2 separate regions of the Homo sapiens genome follow, and region 1 is linked to region 2. The links are contacts of gene promoters, found by promoter capture Hi-C in human tissues and cell types (Jung and others, 2019). All regions are on one chromosome and are shown on one strand. Each heading gives the region's core, a stretch centred on a gene start or on the middle of the fragment in contact. The rest is flanking DNA. Distances are from core to core; before and after follow the strand shown.

What was found. The method cuts DNA at HindIII sites, captures the fragments that hold promoters and counts their contacts. A contact is called where the count stands out against the background at its distance.
Region 1: a fragment that was not itself captured here is called in contact with the fragment with the promoter of GTF2I in region 2 in 2 of the 25 tissues and cell types used here (pancreas and spleen).

The regions. Positions count from the first base shown.
Region 1 is chr7:74,137,710-74,142,542 of GRCh38, reverse strand. No RefSeq gene overlaps it. Among named protein-coding and RNA genes, the nearest start is that of EIF4H, 34 kb to the left of the region's middle. RefSeq lists an enhancer at 3,189-3,718. The HindIII fragment of the contact is 5,476 bases long and covers 1-4,160 here.
Region 2 is chr7:74,654,423-74,659,428 of GRCh38, reverse strand. It overlaps GTF2I (general transcription factor IIi), which reads right to left and starts at 1,711. Exons shown (of 35, transcript NM_032999.4): 1 at 1,361-1,711. RefSeq lists silencers at 552-1,071, 1,142-1,431, 1,452-1,631, 2,002-2,161 and enhancers at 1,732-1,781, 1,802-1,921. The HindIII fragment of the contact is 40,491 bases long and covers 1-5,006 here.

The DNA.
Region 1 (4,833 bases), core at 173-2,672, 520 kb after region 2:
GAATGCAATGGTGCAATCTTGGCTCACTGCAACCTCTGCCGCCTCAGCTCAAGTGATTCTCTTGCCTCAGCTTCCCAAGTAGCTGGAATTACAGGCATGTGCCACCATGCCTGTCTAATTTTTTGTCTATAGTAGAGACGGGGTTTCACCATGTTGGTCAGGCTGGTCACGAACTCGTGACCTCAGGTGATCCCTTGGCCTCTCAAAGTGTTGGGATTACAGCCGTAAGCCACCACGCCCGGCCATGATTTTTTTTTTTTTTTTTTTTTTTGAGACAGGGTCTTATTCTGTTGCTCAGGTTGGAGTGCAGCGGTGCGATCACACCTCACTAGAGCCTCGACCTCCTGAGCTTAAGCAATACTCCCAATGCAGCCTCCTGAGTAGCTGGTACTACAGGTGTGCACTACCACACCAGGCTAATTTAAAATCTTTTCCGTAGAGACAGCCTCTCACTGGGTTGCCCAGGGTGATCTCCAACCCCTGAGCTCCAGCAATTCTCTCACCCCAGCCTCCCAAAGTGTTGGAATTACAGGTGTGAGCCCCCATGCCTGGCCAGATTTCTATTTTTTTATTTGTCCTGTACCTGTGAAGGTAAGCTGAATTTACATGGTCAGGGTGAGGGAAGCCACCTGTGGAGATACGTGGCATTCAATCTTGCAGCTATCTGGTTAGGAACAAAAGAAAATGCAGTTTCCTGTATGACTCAGTTCCTAAGCTTAGCTTTTTGCCCTTTGACATAGTGAGTTTGGGGTCTGGTGATTTTATTTTTCTTTCACACTGTTACTGGAAAGGAGTCCCAATCAAGACCCCAAGAGAGGGTTCTTTTTTAATCTTTTTTTTTTTTTTTTTTTTTTGAGACAGGGTCTCACTCTATTGCCCAAGCTGGACTGCAGTGGCGCCCTCTGCCTCCCGGGTTCAAGTGATTCTCCTGCCTCAGCCTCCTGAGTAGCTGGGATTACAGGCACGTGCCACCACGCCCGGCTAATTTTCTTGTATTTTTAGTAGAGACAGGGTTTCCCCATGTTGGTCAGGCTGGTCTCAAACTCCTGACCTCATGATCCACCTGCCTCGGCCTCCCAAAGTGCTGGGATTACAGGCGTGAGCCACCACACCCAGCCAAGAGAGAGTTCTTGAATCTCACGCAAGAAACAATTCCAGGCGAGTCCATGGAGTAAAGTGGAAGCAAGTATATTAAGAAAGTAAAGGAATAGGCTGGGCACAGTGGCTCACACCTGTAATCCCAGCACTTTGATAGGCCAAGGTGGGCGGATCATTTGAGATTGGGAGTTCAAGACCAGACTAGCCAACATGGTGAAACCCTGTCTCCACTAAAAAATACAAAAACTAGCTGGGCGTGGTGACATACGCCTGTAATCCCAGCTACTTGGGAGGCTGAGGCAGGAGAATCGCTTGAGCTGGGGAGGTAGAGGTTGCAGTGAGCCAAGATTGCACCACTGCACTCCAGCCTGGATGACAAAGTGAGACTCCATCTCACAAAAAAAAAAAAAAAAAAGAAAGTAAAGGAACAAAGAATGTCTACTCCATAGGCAGAGCATCCCCTAAGGTTGCTGGCTGGATATTTTTTATAGTTATCTCTTGATTACATGCCCAACAAGGGTGGATTATTCATGAATTTTCTGGGAAAGGCACGGGCAATTCCTGGAACTGAGGGTTCCTCCCCACTTTTTTTTGAGACAGAGTCTTGCTCTGCCACCCAGGCTGGAGTGCAATGGTGCAATCTCAGCTCACTGCTACCTCTGCCTCCTGGGTCCAAGCAATTCTCCTGCCTCAGCCTCTGGAGTAGCTGGGATTACAGGCGCCCGCCACCATGCCCAGCTAATTTTTGTATTTTTAGTAGAGACAGGGTTTCACATCTTGGCCAGGCTGGTCTTGAACTCTTGACCTTGCAATCCACCTGCCTTGGCCTCCCAAAGTGCTGGGATTACAGGCATGAGCCACTGCGCCCGGCCGGTTCCTCCCCTTTTTAGACAATATAGGGTAACTTCCTGATGTTGCCACGGCATTTCTAAACTGTCATGGCACTGATGGGAGTGTCTTTAGCATGCTAATATATTATAATTAGCACATAATGAGCAGTGAGGACGACCAGAGGTCACTTTCTTTCTATTTTTTGAGATGGAGTTTCACTCTTGTCATCCAGGCTAGAATGCAATGGCACGATCTTGGCTCACTGCAACCTCCGCCTCCCGGGTTCAAGCAATTCTCCTGCCTCAGCCTCCTGAGTAGCTGGGATTACAAGCATGTGCCACCACGCCCAGCTAATTTTTTGTATTTTTAGTAGAGACGGAGTTTCTCCATGTTGGTCAGGCTGGTCTCAAACTCCTGGCCTCAGGTGATCCGCCCGCCTGGGCCTCCCAAAGTGCTGGGATTATAGGCGTTGAGCCACCGCACCCAGCCTACCAGAGGTCACTTTCATCGCCACCTTGGTTTTGGTGGGTTTTGGCCGGCTTCTTTGCTGCAACCTGTTTTATCAGCAAGGTTTTTTGTCACCTATGTCTTGTGCCACCCTCCTGTGTCATCCTGTGACTGGGAATGCCTCACCTCCTGGGAAAGTAGCTCAGTGGTGATGCAGGGTTTTTCTAGGCACCTTCGCTGGACTCATGGAAGGGATGCCCCATCTACTCAGCCCCCTGTGCTCAACCCCTTGCAGGAGGGAGCACACAAGTGACTAAGTGTGGGATCTGGCCAGCTGGCTTCTCCAGGCACCAACACAGGAGCAAGCTGTATGCAGGGCCCATGGCCAGAGCAGGCATGTCACCTTGAGGGGAAAGCAGCAGCACCTAGGTGAGGGTGCCCGTGTCCCCGAAGCTGCAGAGGGGGTGTTATTACAGTGCTCCTTTAGTTCTGCTGTCCACAGATGGTGACATGTCAGCAGATCAGCTGGCCCCTTGCCTCATCACATGGGGACAGCTGCCCTTCACAGGCGAGGGCAAAGGCCCAGTGTGACAGCCTTTCTGGGTATCCTCACTCACTGGGTCCCAAGCTCTTGTCCAGCATCCAGGAAGAATGAAGTTACACGGACGATTGAAGGATGATGAAGGTGGAGAATTTTATTGAGCAATGAAAGCGACTCTCAGTGGAGAGGGGAGCTGGAGAGGGGATGGGAAGTGCAGGCTGCCTTCCCCGAAGTCAGGTCGTCTTTTCCCCTGCTGACTGAGTCTGGAGCCTTTATAGGCACAGGGTGGGGAGTGTGTGCTGATTGGCTTGTGAGTATGCAAAAAGGAGTAGTCCCAGCTATTCAGGAGGCTGAGGCTTGCTTGAGGGATCCCTTAAGTCCAGGAGTTGGAGGAATGTCTTTTGTTATTTATAATGAGTCCTTTTGATCACACTGGAGTTTATGCTAATGAGGTGAGTTAAAGCAAAGACACTACTCAAAGGTGGTCATGAAAGAGTAGAAAACCGCCGGGCACGGTGGCTCATGCCTGTAATGCCAGCACTTTGGGAGGCCAAGGCGGGCAGATCACAAGGTCAGGAGATTGAGGCCATCCTGGCTAACACGGTGAAACCTCATCTCTACTAAAAAATACAAAAAATTAGCCGGGCGTGGTAGCAGGCGCCTGTAGTCCCAGCTACTGGGGAGGCTGAGGCAGGAGAATGACATGAACCCGGGGGGTGGAGATTGCAGTGAGCCGAGATTGCACCACTGCACTCCAGCCTGGGTGACAGAGCGAGACTCTGTCAAAAAAAAAAAGAAAGAGTAGAAAACCAATTAGGAAAGGGTGGGTATATGTAAAATAGGCGAAGGGTGGGGATCAATCAGAGGAAAGCGCGACAAACAGGAAGGTAAGCTCTCAATCCGGTCTAAGGTTTAAACTTGTACCTTCAGTTTCAGGCTTTAAACCGTCTTCGGGTTGGAGGTGGGGTTTCACCGCGGACCCGCCCCTATTGGCCTAGGCAATTGGCTGCCTCCTGTCAATATCAGCAGGTCTCAGCCTCATTTTACCCACCCCCTATTCAAGATGGAATCACTGTGGTTCAAACTCCTCTGACAACAGTAGCTTGCTCCAGATCACACAGCTAATACAAATTGACTCACAAACTCTGGTCTACCCATCATTCAAAGAGGCAGGAAGGTATAGGCCAAACACAGGAAAAGCAGCAGTAACGATAAACTGTGTCTAAAAGACCGTCTTTTCCCCCACAGCACAGGATGAAGTTGAAGTTACTTTCTCTGCCTAAGATCCAGACATCCCCCCTCAACAAGGAAAACAATTGTTTTTTTTTCTTCTCCTTTCTATAAAATCAAGAATGGAACCACACCTGAACAGACTCTTCCGCAAGATAATGTCTCCCTCAGGCTCATTGAAATTCCAAAGAGAATTATGTACAAGTTAATCTCTGTTCCTAAATCCATTCATTCTCCCCAGCAATGTTTATTTTTATTTTTATTTTTATTTTTATTGAGATGGAGTCTCACTCTGTCACCCAGGCTGGAGTGCAGTGATGCCATCTCAGCTCACTGCAACTTCCTCCTCCTGGGTTCAAGTGATTCTCCTGCCTCAGCCTCCTGAGTAGCTGGGATTTCAGCTATGTGCCACCATGACTGGCTAATTTTTGTGTTTTGAGTAGAGACAGGGTTTCGCCATGTTGGCCAGGCTGGTCTCGAACTCCTGACCTCAAGTGATCTGCCCACCTTGGCCTCCCAAAGTGCTAGGATTACAGGCATGAGCCACTCTGCCTAGCCCCCAGTAATCTTTTATGTCCCCTCAATAGAATTCCTCTTTCTTCCCCCTGCCATAACCTGTTTTACCAGGATCCAAACCCCTATTCTTTCTGTATCTGCAAGATAGTATATCTATATCTATAGATATC
Region 2 (5,006 bases), core at 462-2,961:
CACAGAGTGAGACTCCATCTCAAAAAAAAAAAAATTAGCAGGGCATGATGGCATGCGCCTGTAGTCCCAGCCACTGAGGAGGCTGAGGCAGGAGGATCGCTGGAGCCCAGGTGTTGGAGGCTGCAATGTGCTATGATTGTGCCACTCTGCGCTTCAGCCAGGGCAACACAGAGAGACCCTGTTTCTAAAAAAAAAAAAGAAAATTAAGCCGAAAGCGATGGCTCACACCTGTAATCCCAGCACTATGGGGGGCCAAGGTGGGAGGATCGCTTGAGCCTAGGAGTTCAAGACCAGCCTGGGCAACAAAGTGAGAACGCATCTCCACAAATAATTTTTTTTAAAAAAAGGAGGTCAGTAGTCAGCAAGAGCTGCGCATCGCCAAGAGTGGACACTACTCCAACAGCACCCCACCTGTGAACATCCCCAGCCGCAAATCAGCGCAAATCCATAACCTAGGGAGGACAAAATTCGCTACACGAAAAAGCAAAAGCTGGATTAAGAAAAAGTGGAGAAGTCGGGGAGCGGGAAGGAGACAGCTTTTTCCATTTCATTTTCCTTCTTCCTCTGCACTCCCGTCGTCTGGGTGCTGGCTGAACCCAGACGGCTTAATTTTCATGGCCTAAAGCTGAAGTTTTCCTTCCGGTCATTGTGTTTATTTCCCCCAAAGAACAGGCCCCGCGGGGCAGGCGCGCCGGGCCGGCCCGGGACAAAGCCCACTGCGGACTCCACCTGGGAGCGGGGCGGGGCGGGGGACAGCGCTCCCGCTCCCCCGCCCGCCGCAGTTACCAGGCAACGCGCGGCCCCGCCCCCGCGCCGGTTGGCCAATCCCGCGCGTCTGCTGCCCCGGCGCAGGAGCCCCAGATACACCAGGCGAGCGCGACCCCACGACGGCTCGGGCCTGGCACCGCGCGCGCCCCCGCACCGCCTAGCCGGCCAATCAGCGCGGCGGGGCATGCGCAGCCCGCAGGGCCGCTCGCTCGCTCGCGCGCGGGATCGCACGCGCGAGGCGCCCCCCCACCGCACGCCGGTCGGCGCGCGCGCCCCTCCCCCACGCGCACTGAGGCGCGCGCGTGCCACTGTCGTCCCCCGCGACCGCGTCCGTGCCGCCCCACCCCCATCGCCTCGTTTCGGCCACTGCCAAGGCCGGCGGGGCTCGAGACCCGGCGAGGCGGTGGGGGTGGGGGTAGGGGGAGGCGGCACGGGCGCCCCCCAAGGCCCCACACCGCGCGCGGCGGGCCGCGGCTCCCAGGCCCCTGTCCCTGCAGGCCCCGGCGGGGCAAAGTCTCTAATAAAGGCCCCCGCTCGCAATGGCCCCCGAGGCGGGGGCGGGGGGCGCGGGGATGAGGCGAGAGGGACTCACCCGAGTGCGGCCGCCTCCAGGCAGCTCCGGGGCCGGGGGTGCCGAGGGGAGGCGAGTGTGGGCCGCGCGCGGGCTGCGGCCGCCGCGGAGCAGCCTCGGCTGAGGGGAGCTGGCGAGCGGACGGGAGGCGAGAGGGGGCGAGGGGCCCGTGCGTGTCGGTCGCGCTCCTGTCACCGCCGCATGGCCGCCCCGCAGGCAGGGCCTCGCTCAGCGCCTTGATCCGATCACTGGGGGACAGAGGCAGAGGCCGGGGTGACCGCGGCAGGCGGGCGGCCGCGGCTGGAGAGCGCGTGCGGGGAAGCGGGGGGGCGACCGGTGGCCCCTTTTCTCTGCTCTCCCAGCTTCTCTCTCACCCTCCTCCTCCTCCTCCTTTTTTTTTTCTTTTTTTTCTTTTTTTTTTTTTTTTTTTTTTTTTTTGTTCCTCGAAGGCGCGTTGCGCCTGCGCATCCGCAGCGCCGCCCAGCGGGAGTTGTAGTTTCGGATGCGTTCCCCGTCAACGCGGCGGCGGCGGTCGTGGACTACAACTCCCAGGAAGCACCGCGCCGGCTAGCCCCGAACCCGAGGACGAGGCAAGCGCGGCGCCCGGCCCTCTCCAGCAAGGGCTGTCAATGGAGGCGAGGGTGGTGGGAGCGAGAACATGGCTGCACCTGGGGCCTGCGCGGCCGCCCGGGTGGGGGAGGGGAGCCGGGGTGCAGAAACGGAAATCTGGACGGGTGGTGGCTCCGGCGTCGTCCCCACCGAGCGCCAGCCGCCGTCCAAGTCCGCCACTTGCTCTTGCACCCCACATTCCTTGCAAATTGCGAGGCAGGGAAGCTGCAAAAGCCGGGGAGCCCCGGGCTGGGCCGTCGCCCTCCTTGCTCTGCAAAAGGGGAGTCCTTCCGCCTTGCACCACCCTCCAGGACACAAAGAACTCCTCTCTAGTGTTTTCCAAGCTGGCCTCCAAAGAGACCGTTGCCCCCAAGTTCGGACAGGCGAGAGGGGAGGAGACCTTGTGTTTTAATTCCTCCCCCAGACCCTCCGCCTCTATCTCTCCCTCAGGATTTGGAAGGAAACTTGCAAGGGAGTGGGAGCAGAAATCCTGACTCGTAGCTCCTGTTTTGTTCTGTCAACCGCGATGCGATTTAACTCAAACTCCTCCCCCTACCACTATTTTTTGCTTCTCAACTTGAATTAGCCGGTGGGTTTTGAAAATGGAGAGACATTACTGTTCACCTAAGTTAAACTCCAAAACTTTACAACCCCGAGGCCGACGATTTTTAGATGTTTATGTAAAGCACGAGATTGAGTGGTTTTTTGATTCCCGCCCGCCCCCCCACCCAGTACCACCCACTGGGGATTCGGGCCACGACGGCCATCCTCCCCCCACCCGCCGCTTCTCGGTAGGTGGCGACCACGACGCTTTTTCCAGCCTCCAAGCCTTTGTCGCTAGCGAGAAAACTTTCCGAGCAGCCAGTCTTTTGATGTGGGTTCCAAAAACCTTTCCTTTCAATCTGGGTTCTCCGATTGGCATTCCCCATCGTCTCTCTTGCACAGACCGCACCCAATAAAGCCTCCTCTAGAATTTTCATGTTGGATTTTTTTTGAAAAATACATGGAGAGCGTAAAGCTCACCGGAGAAGCAATCTGATTACAGAAGCCTGAATTTTTGCGATTTCCCGGACAATGTCTAGGATCCCTTCGGTCCTTGCCTAATAAGATTGTGACTCTCCTTTGTCGATTGTCTCGAAAGTCATTCATTAAGTTTGCACAAGAGCAACTTTCTTTTTGCACTTGTATTTCATTGACATTTAGTAATATTTAATTAAATTCTCTATTCCCAATACCACGTGCCACTGGCATATATTTAGGAACAAATTTAACTCTTGAGAAGCCTATAACTCACTCTAGTAAGAGCAGCCAGCCTACGAGATGCAGATTTCAGCTGCTGTGGACTTCAGTGAGTATCTTTTGTTGAGAGAGTGGTTTCTCCACCTGGAGGGGTCAGGGAAAGGATTTCCTGGGTATAGTGGAGTCGTGGAGTAGAATTTGGGGGGATGTTACAAAGTGAGTTAGCAAGGCAGAAGTTTATTTAGCCAAGATGACTCTTATCATCGTGAAAACGTTTGGAAGGTAGTTCCTTTCTTCTATGAATTTGTTTAGTGGTTCACAGTGGAATTTTTTTTTTGAGACCGAGCCTCGCTCCGTCACCCACGCTGGAGTGCAGTGGCGCGATCTCGGCTCACGGCAACGTCTACCTCCCGGGTTCAAGTGATTCTCCTGCCTCAGCTTCCTGAGTAGCTAGGATTATAGGCGTGCACTACCACGCCCAGCTAATTTTTGTATTTTTAGTAGAGACGGGTTTCTACTAAACATGTTGCCCAGACTGTTCTCGAACTCCTGACCTCAAGTGATCTGCCTTCCTCAGCCTCCCAAAGTGCTGAGATTACAGGCGTGAGCACCGCACCGGGCCCACAGTGGAATTTTGCTGCCTCTTCATAAACAACTCCAACTTCTTTGAGACTGAAGCAATTCCTAAAACGGTTAGGTCAACATGAGCTGGTTTTGAATTACCTCTAGTCAGAAAGCTGTCTCTGTTGAGGCAATGTGTATGCAGACAAAGCGTTTTTCTGAGCATTTTGCCATTAAGGTTTGTAACCCTCAAATTCATGTGTTACAGTCATAAAGATCTTGCGTGTTCTGTCTTCATTAAGGTCTGGCTCACTGCGGCTTGTTGGAACACTTGTCAACCAATTTCTCCTTCATCTTAGTGGCATAGATACTACATTAATTGTGGCCATTGTTATAAATCACTTTGGATACTATCTCTCTGCAAAGCTGGGGTTTTGTTTTACTTTTTTTTTTTCCTGTTTTTGAGACAGGGTCTTACTGTATCACCCAGGCTGCACTGCAGTGGTTCGATCACAGCTCACTGCAGCCTCCAACTCCAGATTCAAGCCATCCTCCCACCTTAGCCTCCCAAATGCCTGGGACAACATGTATGTGCCACCACACCCAGCTAATTTCGTTTTTTGTAGAGACGGGTCTCACTATGTTGCCCAGGCTGGTCTTGACTTCTTGGGCTCAAATAAGCCTCCTGCCGTGGCCTCCAAAGTGCTGCGATTACAGGCATGAGGCACTGCACTGGGCCCAGGTTTTTTTTCAAATGTAGGATCAGATTACTGTTTTGGGGATTGGGCAACAGAAGAAAAATAATAGTTGATTTGTGTCTAAAAATGATGTAGTAGGAAGTCCTCCTTTATTTTATTTATTGATTTTTTTGGGAGGGGACGGGGTCTTACTCCGGTGCCCAGGCTGGAGTGCATGGTGCGATCTTGGCTCACTGCAACCTCCAACTCCTGGGCTCAAGCGATTCTGCTGCCTCAGCCTCCCGAGTAGCTGGGATTACAGGTATGCACCACCATGCCCGGCTAATTTTTGGATTTTTAGTAGAGACAGGGTTTCACCATGTTGGTCTGTCTGGTCTCAAATTCCTGACCTCAAGTGATCTGCCTGCCTCAGCCCCCCAAGGTGCTGAGATTACAGGCGTAAACCACTGCACCCAGCCAGGAAATCCTCCTTTAAAGACTAGAATCGGGCTGGGCACAGTGGCTCATGCCTGTAATCCCAGCACTTTAGAAGGCCGAGGCAGGCAGATCACCTGAGGTTA